Linked DNA regions of Homo sapiens: region 2 is linked to region 1. Evidence: promoter capture Hi-C in human tissues and cell types (Jung and others, 2019). All regions are on one chromosome and are shown on one strand. Each heading gives the region's core, a stretch centred on a gene start or on the middle of the fragment in contact. The rest is flanking DNA. Distances are from core to core; before and after follow the strand shown.

Region 1 (2,700 bases), core at 137-2,636:
CTGCCGTTTCCCTCAGATCGATTCCTTTCTCACTTTTTTTCTCAGCTGCTGGTTCTGCGGCTTGGATCGATGGAGCCACCTCCCCCCGCCCGTCCACGCTTCCTCTCCCTGCTGCTCATTAGCGCCCCGATTAATCAGCCCCCCTTTCCTCCCGGGGACAAGGGCTTCCTCCCCCGTGAGGGCACATGCTGTCGGATGGGGCCCCAGAGCACAAGCACTGATTCTTGCCACCCCCACCCTGGGGGCATGGATGCATCCCCTCCTGGCCAGTCAACTGAGGCTCCCACCCCCACCTATGATGATGGCCCACATGCCTGTTCCCCTCCACGAGAACACAGCAGACCCCTTAGGGCTCTCCTGCCCCACTCTGCCAGGCACCCCTCAAACCCCTTTCTTTAGGAGAGCATTCGCTCCCATTGACGCCCAGCACATCTTCCTGCTCCCTTCCACGCCCCCACTGGGGCTCTTCCTCTCCCTCCATTGCATGCCCTGTCCCCCTACATATAGAGCACCCCGGAAGCACACCTCCCCTTTGCTCCCTGGCTTGCTTACCCAACAGCCCTCCCCCGAAGCCTGGTTGTGGCAAGGGATTTGGGGAACATTTGGGGAAGCAAAGTGGCCACAGATATGCAAGCTGGCCAGGGTGCTGTCTGTCCCAGACATATGAATGACTGAGATTGGGGTTGGGGGCAAAATGAGGGTGAGGGCAGCCAGCCTCCCAGAGGGGGCAGGGGCATGGTGGGTGTTGAAGTCTGGAGCAAAGCTCCAGGGAAGCTGAGAATCTTGAAGTCACAGTTGTCCCCTGGTCTGTCTAGCCTGCCCTCCTCTGCCCCCCTCCCTCCGTCATTCAAACAAGTGGCTCTCTCAAGGAGTTTCTGGAAGCTGCTGTGAGTCGGGTAGTGGGATCAGGTGGTGGCTGGGTGCTGGAGTCAGGAGTCTCAGAGGCCAGGAGGTGGGGGGATAGAGTTGGCTGACCCTTCATGGGGTGTGGGCCAGGAAAGTGGCAAAGAATGAGCTGAGGACCCTGGGCACGGCACCCTTCCCTGGGTGGCCAGGAAGTGGGGAGATCTGGGGACCCAGTGAGCGGCTAGGGTGCAGCAGGAGTTTGGGGGATAGCCCCAGTCTTGGGATCTCTGTCCTGGGCTGGGGACTGCCCCCTCCCCTGGCCTGGCTCCTGACGCCCGTGCTGCCGGTGAAACGCTGTTGACATGTCCTGAATTATTAAGCGTGGGGAGGGCTCCGGAGCACATGCTGAGCGGAGCGGCTGGGGCTGCGCGGCGTGGCGGAGCAGCGCTCGCTCCCTCGCTCACTCGCTCGCTCGCAGGGACACACGCAGGGGCTGACAGCTGTGCTGGTGCTGATAAGGGAAGCCACAAGGAGACGATCGAGGAGAGAGACAAGCGGCAGCAGAGGCAGCAGCGGCAGAGGCAGCACCAGGGCTGCGGAGCTGCTGGGAGTGGGAGTGACTCCCCCACCTCGGGCCCCCACCCTGTCCCTGTCCTCTTCCCGCTTGCCCTGAGTTTAGAAGAGCAGCCGCTGCCACCACTGCCACTCGGGAGGGCACCAGGGCTGCTGGCTAGGGAGGGACAGGGCAGGGAGGCTCTGGCCAGTCCCAGCAGCCGGGGACAGATGCCGATCGAGATTGTGTGCAAAATCAAATTTGCTGAGGAGGATGCGAAACCCAAGGAGAAGGAGGCAGGGGATGAGCAGAGCCTCCTCGGGGCTGTTGCCCCTGGAGCAGCCCCCCGAGACCTGGCCACCTTTGCCAGCACCAGCACCCTGCATGGACTGGGCCGGGCCTGTGGCCCAGGCCCCCACGGACTGCGCAGAACCCTGTGGGCACTGGCCCTACTCACCTCGCTGGCTGCCTTCCTGTACCAGGCGGCTGGCCTGGCCCGGGGCTACCTGACCCGGCCTCACCTGGTGGCAATGGACCCCGCTGCCCCAGCCCCAGTGGCGGGCTTCCCGGCTGTCACCCTCTGCAATATCAACCGCTTCCGGCATTCGGCACTCAGCGATGCCGACATCTTCCACCTGGCCAATCTGACAGGGCTGCCCCCCAAAGACCGGGATGGGCACCGTGCGGCTGGCCTGCGCTACCCAGAGCCTGACATGGTAGACATCCTCAACCGCACTGGCCACCAGCTCGCCGACATGCTTAAGAGCTGCAACTTCAGTGGGCATCACTGCTCCGCCAGCAACTTCTCTGTGGTGAGTTCTGCCAGCTGGGCTGCCTGGCCTTGGATGGCCGGAGGCTGGGGAGTGGGGAGGAGTGGTGGCAGTGGTGTACAGGGGCATCCTCAACAGGGCTTCCCTTCATTCCACCACCAGAGGCTGGCCTCGTGTTTCCCCAAGCCTGGCGTCTCCCTCTGGCTTCCCAGCCATGGAGCAGTGGCCGCTCATAGGGGCTTACCCTGGGGCGCCTGCTGCTCCTCTTCTTGGTTTTGCTGCTGCTGCAGTGCCCAGGTCTGGGAGTTGGGGTGGGGGTTCCTAGGCATGGGCCCAGGTGTCCTGGAGCTGGCTGGCTTGCAGGGAACGCACGCACCATCCCAAGGCCAGACCAACTGACTCTCACTTTTCTCTTGCTCCCTTTTTCTTCTGAGGCTACTGGATTCTTCCCACCAAACGAAGGAGATAGGGAGGGGAGGTTTGGGGGGCTCCATCTAGGGAAGGACCCCGGGTGGCCTCCTGGGGAGCTGG
Region 2 (2,700 bases), core at 183-2,682, 80 kb before region 1:
TGTAGATCCACATAACCACCACCATTACCACTGTCAAGATACAGAACTGTTCTGTTTTTGTTTTGTTTTGTTTTTTGAGACAGAGTCTCACTCTGTTGCCCAGGCTGCAGTGCAGTGGTGCCATCTAGGCTCACTGCAACCTCCACCTCCCAGGTTCAAGCGATTCTCCTGCCTCAGCCTCCTGAGTAGCTGGGACTACAGGCATGAGCCACTACACCTGGCTAATTTTTTGTATTTTTAGTAGAGACAGGTTTCACCATGTTGGCCAGGCTGGTGTTGAATTCCTGAGTTCAAGTGATCCACCCACCTCGGCCTCCCAAAGTGCTGGAATTACAGGTGTTAGCCACCGCGCCCAGCCAAGATACAGAACTGTTCTATCACAAAGGTCTCATCTGGACTCTTGATGTTTCTCAACGTGCAACACTTAGGCACATCAGAATCAGTTGAGTCATTTGTTAAATGTGCAGATTCCTCCCAGCTCAGCTGCTGAACCAGTGTGGGGCAAGGAGGCTGGGAATCTGGCCTTTACTTGAACTGGCCGTCATTTCTATCCATCCTCCACTTTGTGGCCGCCAAGAGGATCCTCCTAAGACACAGCTCCCACCGTGTTTTTTCTGCCGCTTAAAGCTGTGTAGTGGCGCCCCCTGCTTTCAGGGTAGAGAAACCAAAGCCTTAGCAAACAAAGCCTTCTCCAGGCCCCACCTCCCTTCTTCCACTCACCCCACCCACTACGCTTCAATCCCTCCAAACCTCTCTAATTCCCAGGACGCCTTTGTTTTCATCAGGCTCATTTTGTTCATGCCGTTCCCTCTGCCTGGAATGTCCTGCCCACTCTTTTCTGCCTATTGCAACCCTATTCCACCACCCATTCTTACAGATGAGGACTTGGAGGTTGAGAGAGGTTTGGTGTCACCCAGCAAGTAAGGGCAGGGCGCAGTGGAGGCCCCAATCCACCTGACTCCCAGGCTCCTGGTCTTACTGTTCGCCAGCTGTAATGGAGGCGCTGGGGGAGGCCATGGTCCCTCTTCGGAGCTGTCTGCTCACCTCCACTTGGGCCTGCCTCCCCATCCACCTCTCAGGCATCTCACCAGGACCGTTCCTCTTCTTCCCCTCCCAGCGAAGCCGGGCAGGGATGAGGGGTCTGAGATGAGGGAGGAAGGGAAATGGGATTGAGCCCAGGGGTAACCTGACTCCCTGCAGTGGGTCGTGTGGGGGCCAGGCACACTACGGAGGGGAAAGCCTGGAACAAATACCGAGGGACTCCCTTAAGCCGGGCCGGCGATGGGGGCTCCTGGAGGGAGAGAAGGAGCCAAGTGGAGTCAAGTCCCTCCCCTGCTGCCCCCTCCCTCCACGGCTCCCTCGCAACCCGAGCCGGGGGGCCTAAAAATAGCCCCCAGGCGCAATCGCCGGCCGCCCCGGTGACCTTCTGGGTAGCACAGGCCGAAGGCGGGCGGGCAGCAGGAAGGCAGGCCGCCGGCCCCCCAGACTTGTCTCCTAGGGCACCGTCCCGCGGGTGCCCCCGTGGCCGCCCAGTTCCGGCGTCCCCCCAGCCCAGCTCTCAGTGGCCATGCAGAAAGCCCGGGGCACGCGAGGCGAGGATGCGGGCACGAGGGCACCCCCCAGCCCCGGAGTGCCCCCGAAAAGGGCCAAGGTGGGGGCCGGCGGCGGGGCTCCTGTGGCCGTGGCCGGGGCGCCAGTCTTCCTGCGGCCCCTGAAGAACGCGGCGGTGTGCGCGGGCAGCGACGTGCGGCTGCGGGTGGTGGTGAGCGGGACGCCCCAGCCCAGCCTCCGCTGGTTCCGGGATGGGCAGCTCCTGCCCGCGCCGGCCCCCGAGCCCAGCTGCCTGTGGCTGCGGCGCTGCGGGGCGCAGGACGCCGGCGTGTACAGCTGCATGGCCCAGAACGAGCGGGGCCGGGCCTCCTGCGAGGCGGTGCTCACAGTGCTGGAGGTCGGAGGTAAAGGGCAGGTGGGGGCCGCGCCCGGCAGGGGCGGGGTGCTCAGAGGTAGAAAAGGGCTGCCCAGGCCACGCGGGTAAGGTACTGGATACTGGTTCCGCCGCCTTCTTCCCAGGTGCCCTGGCTTCTCGGCTGCCCGGCCCCAGAAGTGAGACGAAGAGCCAAGTGCAGGGAATGGGGTGTCAAGGTAGAGAGGCTCCCCACAGGAAGGTCAGAGGTCAAGGGGCAGCAAGCGGTTGATAAGCCAAGCCTGAGACCCACTCCCACCTCTCAGGGAATTCTGGGGTGGAAGTTCTTCTCCTCCTGTGGAGAAAAGCCTCCTGGGGGAAAGGGTGTCCTTCAGTTCCATGATTTAAACTTGAGATTGACACTCCGATCAGCTCCTTAACAGGGGAGTCCATGTCCGAAGGAGGGGGCCAGCTCCTCTGGTCCAGGCTGCACTGTTGAAGGGATGGCTCAGAGCTCCCTGCAGGCCATTGCCGTGGCAGGGTTGATGTGGTCAGCTCTAGGTGGGGTGTGGAAGAGGCCTATGGTTGGCCACGTGTGAACAGGGTCCAGGGTAGGAGGAGGTGGAGCCCGAGCCAGGGCCCCATGGGCATGAATGGAGGTGAGTGCTTGAGAATCCACATGCAGGTGTGTGCCTGCATGGGTGCTGTGGAGGGCCCTGGATTCTGTGTGGTGGTGCAAACAGGTGAGGTATGGGCACGTGGAGCTGGAATGGGAAGCTCCTGGACCATGTCTACCT

What was found. The method cuts DNA at HindIII sites, captures the fragments that hold promoters and counts their contacts. A contact is called where the count stands out against the background at its distance.
Region 2: a contact is called between the fragment with the promoter of SPEG here and the fragment with the promoter of ASIC4 in region 1, in 3 of the 25 tissues and cell types used here (H1 embryonic stem cells, neural progenitor cells and psoas muscle).

Annotation. Positions count from the first base shown.
Region 1 is chr2:219,513,096-219,515,795 of GRCh38, forward strand. It overlaps ASIC4 (acid sensing ion channel subunit family member 4), which reads left to right and starts at 1,387. Exons shown (of 10, transcript NM_018674.6): 1 at 1,387-2,211. The coding sequence starts at 1,630. All of the region lies in intron 1 of ASIC4-AS1 (ASIC4 antisense RNA 1), which reads right to left. RefSeq lists an enhancer at 1-25 and a silencer at 1,310-1,485. The HindIII fragment of the contact is 23,008 bases long and covers 1-2,700 here.
Region 2 is chr2:219,433,411-219,436,110 of GRCh38, forward strand. It overlaps SPEG (striated muscle enriched protein kinase), which reads left to right and starts at 1,433. Exons shown (of 41, transcript NM_005876.5): 1 at 1,433-1,955. The coding sequence starts at 1,568. The HindIII fragment of the contact is 17,008 bases long and covers 1-2,700 here.